Regions from separate parts of the Homo sapiens genome. Here regions 2 and 3 are each linked to region 1. Evidence: promoter capture Hi-C in human tissues and cell types (Jung and others, 2019). All regions are on one chromosome and are shown on one strand. The core of a region is centred on a gene start or on the middle of the fragment in contact, and the rest is flanking DNA. Distances in the headings are between cores, read along the strand shown. Region 1 holds the start of MGLL (monoglyceride lipase). Region 2 overlaps LOC107986129 (a long non-coding RNA gene). Region 3 overlaps MGLL (monoglyceride lipase).

What was found. The method cuts DNA at HindIII sites, captures the fragments that hold promoters and counts their contacts. A contact is called where the count stands out against the background at its distance.
Region 2: a contact is called between a fragment that was not itself captured here and the fragment with the promoter of MGLL in region 1, in 1 of the 25 tissues and cell types used here (heart right ventricle).
Region 3: a fragment that was not itself captured here is called in contact with the fragment with the promoter of MGLL in region 1 in 2 of the 25 tissues and cell types used here (dorsolateral prefrontal cortex and spleen).

What each region holds. Positions count from the first base shown.
Region 1 is chr3:127,820,829-127,824,451 of GRCh38, reverse strand. It overlaps MGLL (monoglyceride lipase), which reads left to right and starts at 1,937. Exons shown (of 8, transcript NM_007283.7): 1 at 1,937-2,143; 2 at 2,614-2,758. The coding sequence starts at 2,134. RefSeq lists a silencer at 976-1,495. The HindIII fragment of the contact is 31,525 bases long and covers 1-3,623 here.
Region 2 is chr3:127,881,143-127,884,765 of GRCh38, reverse strand. All of the region lies in intron 3 of LOC107986129 (a long non-coding RNA gene), which reads left to right. Among named protein-coding and RNA genes, the nearest start is that of KBTBD12, 32 kb to the left of the region's middle. The HindIII fragment of the contact is 5,061 bases long and covers 1-3,623 here.
Region 3 is chr3:127,779,352-127,782,974 of GRCh38, reverse strand. It overlaps MGLL (monoglyceride lipase), which reads left to right. Exons shown (of 8, transcript NM_007283.7): 3 at 1,080-1,186. Among named protein-coding and RNA genes, the nearest start is that of MGLL, 41 kb to the left of the region's middle. The HindIII fragment of the contact is 3,961 bases long and covers 1-3,623 here.

The DNA of each region.
Region 1 (3,623 bases), core at 688-3,187:
GGGCCTCCTTGGACACACACAGTGTGACGCTGAGACACAGTCCTCAACGCTGCTATGGTGTAGAATTTTTTGCGGAGAAAGACAGGAAGGCCTCTTGAGGTCAGTGTGAGACAGGGACACTCCACTGGGGCATAGGTATATCACTCACAGGTTGAAGGTAGGTAGACTGAGGCTCAAAGAGCAAGCGGAGGAGCTAATGTTCAACCCAGGTGGTGTGGAGTCTCAGTCCAGTGGCCTTACCCTCCACGGCCACGTTGCTAGTTATACTGGACAGAGCTCAGACTGTGCCCTGGCCTGTGTAGATGCACCAGAGGTTTTATCTGGGGGTCACAGCCGCTGGGAACGGGAGAGTTGCTGGGGATTGCCAGGAAGGGACAAGGCATTTGTAGCCATGCACCATCTGCTTTTACACTACCCTAGAGTCAAGTGGACCCCCTCCAGCATTTTTTTTTCCCCGAGATGGAGTCTCACTCTGTCACCCAGGCTGAAGTGCAATGGTGTGGTATCGGCTCACTGCAACCTCTGCCTCCCGGGTTCAAGCGATTCTCCTGAGTAGCTGGGACTACAGGCGCATGCCACCACGACCGGTTAATTGCCCCTCCAGCATTGTATGTGTCTGACTGCAATGAAGTGTGAGTGTGTCTGTGTGCGACTGTGTGTGTATGATGTGAGTGTGTCTGTGTCTATGTGGGGGCCAGGTGTATAGTCTGCATATGTCTGTGCACCTCTGTGTCTCTGTGGGTTGTCTGTGCCTATGTCTCGGCTTGTGTGTGTGCATGCATGTGTGGTCTGTGTGTGTCTGTATGCATGTGGTATCTCTGGGATGTGTGTCTGTATGTCCCTGCGTGCAGTGTAGTGACTTTGGGAGTGCACATGTGTACACGTGTGGTGAGTGTGCGGCCCTGCGCGAGTTGTCTGTGTACGTGTGGTGCCTGTGGGTCTGTGTGCGCGCGTGTGCCCGTGGGTGTGGTGTGTCCTCCCGCGCTGAGGCTCCCATGAACCCAGCTCAGTTCAGGCCTCCCTGACAGTCCTCGGGCGGCCACCCCGGGGCGCGGCTGTCCACGAGGCGCGGAGGAGAGGAGTGCGTGGCTGGGTCGGCGGGCGGCGCCCCCGCTCCTCCCCGCGGGCCGGGCACACGTGGGCCCCGGGCGCCGCCTCCCCGCGCCGCCCGCCGCCCGCCGGGTCCCGCGCGTCCCCACCCACCTCGGGCCGCCCCCGCCGCCGAGCCGGCCCAGGGATAAAGTGGCGGCGCAGACGCCGCACCCTGTCGCCGCGAAGCCGGTCGCGCGCAGCTCGTCCCGGCCCTGGCCCGCCGCAAACGAGGATCCGCTGCGCTCGGGGAACGCGACAGCGGCGCTCGTGGCCCCGGTAACTGCCTCCCGGCCCCTGCCCCAGCCCGCCAGTGCCGCCGTCAGGGGTGGGGAGCAGCACTGGGGTCCCGGACACGCCCGGCGTGGGCTCCCGCTACCCATGTGTGCGTGTGTGTGTGTGCACGGTGTGTGTGCGCGCGTGTCCGAGTGTGCGCGCGTGTGCGCGCGCGCGCGCCCTCCCTGCTCCTTCGCACCAGCCCCCAAACCAACTTGTCCCCATCAACTCCATCTTTCTAGTCCCCACCTTCCCCGGTGCAGACACCCGGCGAAGCCCACCCGGTTTTCCCAGCGGCATTTCCGATGACAGCTTCGGGGCTACGTGTCCTGTGCTGTCGGAGACGCACAGGAAGCAAAGTTTGTGAGAAGCCTTGGGGGCGACTTTGCCTTGGGCACCCGCATTTGTGCGTCTGCGAGGTGCCTCGGTGTGCGCGGAGCTAGTTTCCCAGTTTCCCGGGCCCCTCCCTTCTCCGAGCCCCTCTAGCGATTTGTTTAGGAAAAGTGATGACATGAACTAGTAGTGGAGAATCGCAGCGCCGCTCCCCGCCCTGGGGAGGGAGGGGAGCCCCGGAGAGCCTGCCGGTGGGAGCTGGAAGCAGGCTCCCGGCTGAGCGCCCCAGCCCGAAAGGCAGGGTCTGGGTGCGGGAAGAGGGCTCGGAGCTGCCTTCCTGCTGCCTTGGGGCCGCCCAGATGAGGGAACAGCCCGATTTGCCTGGTTCTGATTCTCCAGGCTGTCGTGGTTGTGGAATGCAAACGCCAGCACATAATGGAAACAGGTTTGTCATGTATCCTTGGAATTTCAGATGGGAGGAATAATCTGAGTATCATCCACCTCATTATTGTGCCCACTTGAAACTGTTCCTTGGAGATTTTAAGATAGATGGGTCTTCTTGCAGCTGGGTCTTTGTACCCATAGAGCTGACTATAATTTCCACTTGATTACAGCTAAAATAGTCTTTAAGATGAAGTTTCCTGAAATGATTTAAAATAAACACAGATGGGAAGGGGGAAAAACTGTAATGAGGCACTTAAAAAATAAAGTGAGCATTTTCTTAAGAACAAATGGGATTTTTCAGTCTTGGAGAGGTTTGCAAGAAATGTATGTATGTTTTAAACCTTTGAAACAGAGGGGTTTTTTAAACTGCTTTTAAAAAAATGTTACTGACTCTGAACTAGACTTTTCTCTCCTATCCATACATGTTCTTGAGATATTTCTGACTTTGGAATATGTCACTTTTCCTTCTAGGACCTGAAGACCCTTCCAGCATGCCAGAGGAAAGTTCCCCCAGGCGGACCCCGCAGAGCATTCCCTACCAGGACCTCCCTCACCTGGTCAATGCAGACGGACAGTACCTCTTCTGCAGGTACTGGAAACCCACAGGCACACCCAAGTAAGTCTTCCCCAGAAAGTCACCCCAGGTGACAGGGGAGCATGGCCCCTGCTTCTCCTCTGGTCGTTATCATGTGCCATCTGGGGCGGGGCCGCTTTCTCTATGACCTACTTCCCCTGCCGTTTTAATGTTAGGCTGAGCAATGTTAACAAAGCTAAAATGTATACTTTATAATTTTTAAATTTAAGAAGCAGGAATTCTTTTTTCATTATAACAACTCAGATATGGATCCTACCGTATGGCAATTTTCAAAAATTCCACATGACTTTATTTTTTGTACTGGAGTTGATTTCCGGTTGTACAGGCATTCATTTAAAATCAAACCCGACAATTAAGGAAAATCCCCTAGATGGATGAGAAACCCGAAGTAATACATATATCTTCACCTTTGCTCACTTTTCCTGCTTGTTTCTGAGCTTCTGAAGATGGCATACATGTGTCACCAGGAAGAAAGGGGCCTGGGTATTTCCTTCTGATTCCTTGCCAGCTCAATTACTTTGTACATTTTCCATCAAGGATTTGTCTTGCTATTAGAAGCAAACATTGGGACTATACACAAGACAGCTGGTCTCCTGCTGCTGCTCCCTCCTCTTGGATGAAGCAGGAAAACCCTGCTTGTTTGTGTTATTTGGAAAAAGAATTTATTTGTGGTAACCAATTGGCCTGGTGACAAGAACATTTCCTGTTCCAGGGACATTTTACCTGTTTTGTAGGCCTCTTGTCTCCTAGGGATCATTGTGTGGTTGGATTATGTCTCTCTTTGTGCTCCAGTAATCACCCAACCCTCACACAGGTGTAAAATTTCTTCTCTGTCTTCATCAAGGTATCTATGATCCAGGGAGCTGCACGTTAAAAACACAGAGAT
Region 2 (3,623 bases), core at 512-3,011, 60 kb before region 1:
TTCTTACCATTCTTCCATTGCAATCCTTGGCACTTAGCTAAAAGAACAGAAGTATCTGAAGCAGATACATTAAGTTTTCAGAGAATTACATTCTATTGGGGAGGGGAAGGAGGATAAAATAATAAAATTCTGAGGAATTTGGTTTCAAATAAAGAAACCGAGGCCCTGGTTGTCTAAATAGCGTTGCACAGCTAGGTAGAAGGATGACTGAGATTAGAACAAAGTTTACTGCTTTCCAGGAAGAAAAATGTTCAGTTTCTTCTAGCTCTGCCATCTGAATATTCGTTAGACTTAGAACCACGCCTAATTTAGGATAAATGTTATCTTTCATATGATACATTTTATATGTGTTAATCTATCTATGAAGTGTTGTCAACATATTTATAATTTGCTGGGCCTTTAAGAGGTATCTTCTGGAAGCCTCATACCCTTGCATTTTATAATCTTTAAGATGGTTAGTTCTTCCATGACATCACATTAATACATTAGCAGATGCTCTTTCATTGGTTCTCTCTCATGGCCACTGGTCCCTTTTCCACTATTGCAGCTGTTTTGCTGACCTTATTTTCTCACTGGGAATATGCCCAGTCAGCTGTGGAAAACAAAACCCAAGAAACACAAAATTTAACAGTTGCATACATTTATTTAAAAATAACAATGAATGCAGGGCTTCTTATGTTAAAAATCATCTATACACATGTTTCAAAGCCAAAGTGCACCAAATTTCCAAAATAAAGCTTTTGGAAACATTAGCGGGCGTGAGTGGACTTGGTAAGCTGATGGTCCCCAAGCCAGATGTGAAGATAAAATGCTGTGGCGAGACGCAGCAGTGTTTTCCATGTTAAACACATTTTCAAAACTAGTAAACATTGTGACTTGATAAGACCTCGAATCAATAAAGGGACTCAGGGTAGAATCTAAGCATGTTCTACAAATGGAAGTCTGTTAAGATGAACTCTTAAAGACTTGGGTTATATACAGGTAGTCAAAAATATTTTAAAGTGGCTGGGCACAGTGGCTCACGCCTGAAATCTCAGCATTTTGGAAGGCTGACGTGGGTGGATCATTTGAGGTCAGGAGTTTGAGACCAGCCAGGTCAACATGGTGAAACCCCACCTCTACTAAAAATACAAAAATTAGCCAGGTGTGGTGGCATGCGCCTGTGATCCCAGCTACTCAGGGGACTGAGGCAGGAGAATCGCTTGAACCCGGGAGGTGGAGGTTGCAGTGAACCTCCACCACTGCACTCCAGCCTGGACAACAGAGTGAGACTCTGTCTCAAAAAAAATATATATATATATAATGTACATATATGTGTATATGTGTATATATGTGTATGTGTGTGTGTATGTATATATATATATATATATATATATATATTAAAGCATCTGGAGAGTGCCCAGTTTTGCCATAATGGATTGTTAATATTAATTGTCTTCGTGTTTCTTTCCATTTCATAGATTATTTGGGATAAACCTTGAATCCTATTCTTGGCAGCTATAGCAAGTGCCCAGAATATTCCTGGGATCCTCCTGACTGCCCACCTGGAGCATGCCTTCTTATTTTTATTTTTAACCTTAGCTGGATTGTGGGGGAGAGGTGTGGGGCAGATATCATTCATTACCATTTCAAATGCAAGAGACTAATATATGTAAAAAAGCTGTCTGTTTTGAGTTGTCATTGCTATTCCTCCATTAGGGCATATTCTCAAGATCTTCTGTCTTTTTAAAATGCAATACAAGCCAACAGCTATTCAGGGGTTTCTAATTTCTCATGTATTTGGTCTGTAATAGAATATATTAGTATATTTAAAAGCCATTGTCCTTTTTTATTATATAATCTGTATTTTTGAGATCCTTTGAGCTTTTTTCTTGAATTGTGCTTTCCTTCCAATAATGGCAATTTTGTAACTCCTGTGTCTAAGGAAGGGTTCAGAATAAGAACACGGTAAATGAATAGAATGTCAACTTGAATGTGACAGGCTGTAAGACCATGGCTGATGGGAAAGAGGAGGAAACAGAGGCCTGTGGTGGGGATCAACTCAGCTACAGGGTAGGCTCAGAGGGAGACAGGCAGTAATTGAGTTTTTAATGTTCCATTGCATTAGGTAATTTTTTTTTTTTTTTTTTTTTTTTTTTTTTTGAGACGGAGTCTCGCTCTGTCGCCCAGGCCGGACTGCGGACTGCAGTGGTGCAATCTCGGCTCACTGCAAGCTCCGCTTCCCGGGTTCACGCCATTCTCCTGCCTCAGCCTCCCCAGTAGCTGGGACTACAGGCGTCCGCCACCGCGCCCGGCTAATTTTTTGTATTTTTAGTAGAGACGGGGTTTCACCTTGTTAGCCAGGATGGTCTCGATCTCCTGACCTCATGATCCACCCGCCTCGGCCTCCCAAAGTGCTGGGATTACAGGCGTGAGCCACCGCACCCAGCCTGCATTAGGTAATTTTGAATCATCCTCTTGTTTGTGCAGATAGTAACTTACTCAAAGACTTCCAGTCCGGTTGTGATGGAGTAGCATTAGACTTACCATTCTATCATGAAGACTATAACAAATGCACAAAACATGTGAAACAATGGTTTTCAGGCCTTGGACAGTGGCTTAAAGCCTTGAGCTGCCTTGAGCCAAGGGAGGTACTTGATATTTATCCTGGCTTTCTGCTTGAAGTTGGTTTCTAAACCACAGTGGGGGATAATTTAGTCAAGCAAAGAGAGCAGCAGGGAAGGGAAGCTGGGCAGGGAATCTGGAAACATTGCTTGTGGCTTCTGTGACAGTGGCAATTTGTGTGTCAGGGTACCAGATGAGAGACAATTCCTTAACTTTGTATAAGGCCTCCCTTAAGGTCCTTGGCTAAATCTTAAACTGAACATGTCCGGGGCAAGACACTATGATGCCTAATAGAGAACAGCTCCTAGGAACAGAGAGTTGATCAGAGATTTCAATGATAACTCATCATTGAAGAATTTCAGCCAGTCAAGCCATAGACCTTGGTGGGCATCTCTGGCATTTAATTAAAACCCCAGAAAGGTCATTTCATTAAGAGTAAGAACCATGCTATAGAAGTAAGGGCTGTGCCTGATGACTAAGGGAAACATTGAAATAGACATGTCGAAAAGCCCAGCCTCAGCAAAATTGAAGGGATCCACCAGACTCCCTGAACAAAACTCAGCCCGCTTTAGAGAAAGGTAACAAAATTCAGAGTTTCTAGGAGTCACACAATGTCTGGCATATGCTGAAAAATCAGTTCTATGTGTGAAGAAGGAAAAAAATGTGATGGTTTATCAAAAGGAGGAAAAATGATCAAAAGAGACAGACTCAAAGGTGAACTAGATGTTGGAATTAGCAGAGAATAGTCTTTAAATAATTGTTATAAATATGTTAAAGCAGAGGTCCCCAACCCTTGTGCCACAAACCGGTACTAGTCCATGGCCTGTTAGGAACGACGCCACACAGCAGGAAGTGAGTGGCGGGCAAGCGAGATCTGTATTTACATCCACTCCCCCTCATTCACATTACTGCCTGAGTTCCACCTCCTGTCAGATCAGTGGTGGCATTAGATTCTCATAGGAGCATGAATCCTATTGTGAACTGCACATGGGAGGGACCTAGGTTGCACTTTCCTTATG
Region 3 (3,623 bases), core at 650-3,149, 41 kb after region 1:
TCAAGTGATCTGCCCGCCTTGGCCTCCGAAAGTGCTGGGATTATAGGTGTGAGCCACCTTGCCTGGCCCAACTCACTTAACTTCTATGCATTTCACTCTCATCTGTAAAGAAGATAAATCATCTGATGACTGGAGAGTTAGAAATCTTGCATGTGGAGTTGCAGAGGAACGGGTGCATAGTAAATGCTCAGGAAGGTGGCAGCTTGTTCTCCTCCTCCTCTTTCCCCTCATCACCATCAGCAGCAGTAGAAGTTGGTGGGTATCGCTCATGGCATTTACTCCGTGCCTGAAGGAGACTCTAGCTCTCCGTAGGTCTTCTGCTAAGAATATAGGTCTTGAAAATTGGATAGTTTGGAATCTAAATGCTGCCACATTCGCCCCCGAGGGAGGAAGCAGGCCCTGGTGGAGGACCTGCCTGCCCCGCGCCAGCACTCTGCCTGGGCCATTGGCATCGATTAGCTCCCATGAGCCTCACAAGCACCCACAGGGCGATGCTCTTCTTACCATGTTACAGGCGAAGAAATGAACCTTCATGGGACTGGAGCTCTGCCTGAGAGCTCACAGGAAGAGCAGGGATTTGGGCTCCATTCTGCGTGACTCTGAAGCCCCGCATTTTAACAGCAAACTCCTCTTATTTGACAATGCCTGGAGCCCATGGTGTGGCTCCTGGTGTTGCTGAGGTTTTGTAAGCTCTGGTACTGCTGCAGCACAGTGGCAGCCATCTGGGCGTTTCTTTTCTTTTCTATTTTTTTGGAGACAGAGTCTCGCTCTGTCACCCAGGCTGGAGTACAGTGGCGCCATCTCAGCTCACTGTCATCTCTGCCTCCTGGGTTCAAGCAATTCTCCTGCCTCAGCCTGCCGAGTAGCTGGGATGACAGGCGCATGCCACCACTCCCGGCTAATTTTTTTGTATTTCAGTAGAGGTGGGGTTTCACTATGTTGGTCAGGCTGGTCTCAAACTCCTGAGCTCAGGCAATCCGCCCGCCCCGGCCTCCCAAAGTGCTGGAATTGTAGGCATGAGCCACCGCGCCCAGCCCCGTGTGGGCTTTCCTAACCAGGCTCCCTTCTTGTCTCTGCAGGGCCCTCATCTTTGTGTCCCATGGAGCCGGAGAGCACAGTGGCCGCTATGAAGAGCTGGCTCGGATGCTGATGGGGCTGGACCTGCTGGTGTTCGCCCACGACCATGGTGAGTGTCCCAGGGTGCCGTCAGAGCTGGCTGGGCCCTGACAATTTGGAGATCTCCCTCTCTAGTCCATCTCACTGCCAGCATCCTTCTCAATTCTTCTATTCCCCACGGATGTTTCAAAGTAAAAAAATGTAGTTATGCAAACAAACAAAAAAAATGTCTGACGAGCAGATTCTGTAGTCTGAGACTGAATGCAGGCTGATTAGAAACCTCAACTGGAAAAACAAAGTCGGATATGTTCATCTCAGAACTTGCCTGAGGCTAAGGAATTCTTTCCTGCATTTATAAAGTGCTTTCTCTCAAAATGGGCCCTGGTTTTTCTCCAAGTGCCCTCAAATGGGCATTGTGTAGTCAGTTCAAGTACAGTGTAAACCCTGGTTTAACCACACGAGGTTTACCAAGCATTTCAGACCAGGAGAATAGTAGAAGCCTCAACAGGCCATATTGTTCACAAGAAAACCCAACACACACACAAATACAAGGACACACAGCTACCCATGCATATAGTCATACACACATTTGCACACATACACATATACATACACATGCACACACATACACACCTGTACCTATACACATACACGTAAAACACACATACACACATACATACACATGTGCACCTACACATTTACACACATATACACACATTCACACATACATATAGACATATACATGCATACATAAACATACCATCCATACACAATCACACACACACAACCCCAGGCCAGGTCTTTGATTCTTTGTTCTGTAGCAAAATCCACAACCATCAAAATCCAATGTTCATTGTCTGAGTCGGTATGTAGTTTTGTAATCATGTTTGCAACATTCTCTATGGCTAGGAAGTCTCCCAATTTAGTTCTTTGCCTAACACTTTTTAAAATTAAGACTTCTCTGTGACTGAACACGGTGATTTCCCCACAGCTTCAATGTAAAATTCTATCATTGTGGCCCAGATCCAGAAATGTTGCTTCCATTTTATCTGATTTGAAAATGGATAATAATTAAGTGATGTCTCTGAAAAGAGGGACAGGGGAGCAATGACAGAGGCCTGGAAGTCCTTGTAAATGCGGGAAAGCCTTATCTGTACGGAGAAGCTGCACAGGAGGTGAAAAGCTTGCTGGGACATTCTGTAGGTAAAGAGCTGCAAATGTGATTTGCCAGGGGCTCTTATTCAGCTGGATATACACAAGCGTCCTCATAACTGACAGTATTGACTAATTCTTTCTTATCATAGTTGTGACGTTCTTTAGTGCTTTGCGAACTGTCCCAGTAATATTTGTGAGACTGTTTGAGAAATAATATTTGAGGATCATCTCCGAGGCTTTTAGTATGGGGACTGTGTCATTATTAACTTTGGCACTTCTTACATGTAAAAGCCTCAGATAGGAATTTTTTTTTCCTATTGCATTTGCATCCTTTAAAATTTGTTACACTCATCATCGTTATGTTCTAGAGACATTGTGAAGGAAAAGGATATTTGTACTATGCAGCTAGAGTCCCAAGAATCTATTTTGTATCTTAGCACCAACCACCTTCTTATCGGATAAAACTTGGCCAAATCTGTGGGATTAAGTAAATGTTGTTCCTTGTTTATTTTGTCTGGCTGTGGCACTTTGAGAAACAATTTTAAAAGCCTCCTTTTTTAGAATAAAGGGAGAAAAGAAACAGCCCACCTTTTGATGTTTCCAGAATAACATCTAGAGTTGAGGCAGAGCTCTCTGTGACATTCTAAATATAGTGCGAAAATGGCTGTTGGTGTTCACCTGTTTCAAGCTCTTTGAATGACTCATGGAAATCTCTCTGGCAAGTGCCTAAGGGAAGTGTTTAATTCAGGAAATGAACCCAGTTGACTGTGCGTGTGTGACTTTTGCTGTGGCTTGCTTAGTAGAAGGAAGCCAAGTAAGTGGGCTGCCATTTTGGGGATCTTGTGCAGGCTGGCGATGCAGGTACTGGTGGCTAGTGATCTTGGCTGTATTTCCTTCTTGCTGAGAAATGTGCTAGTAAGTGAAGAAGGAAGGATTTGAACCCAGGTCAAACCTTCTTTAGAAGGTTGGGGAGGGAAAGGAGTGAATGGATGCTAAATCTGACGCTAACTGATTTTACTAGCTTGGATCTCGTTGCTCAATGCATTATAGTATTTCGCTGTTCAGCATTTTAACAGCAAATCCTCTTATTTAATAAGGCCTGGAGCCCACAGTGTGGCTCCTGATGCATTGCTGAGGTTATGTAAGGTCCTGCGCCGCTGCATTACAGCCACAACTGTCTAGACTTTTCTAAGAAAAAAAAAAAGGCTGGTTCTAAAGCCTGGCCTTTTTTATTACTGTACACCAATGTTTCCAGGCACAAATGCCTACAGAGATATATGCAGACTGCATTCTTTCCAACATAGCTTTTATTTTATTTTTTTACTTTTTATTTTTTTGAAATGGAGTCTTGC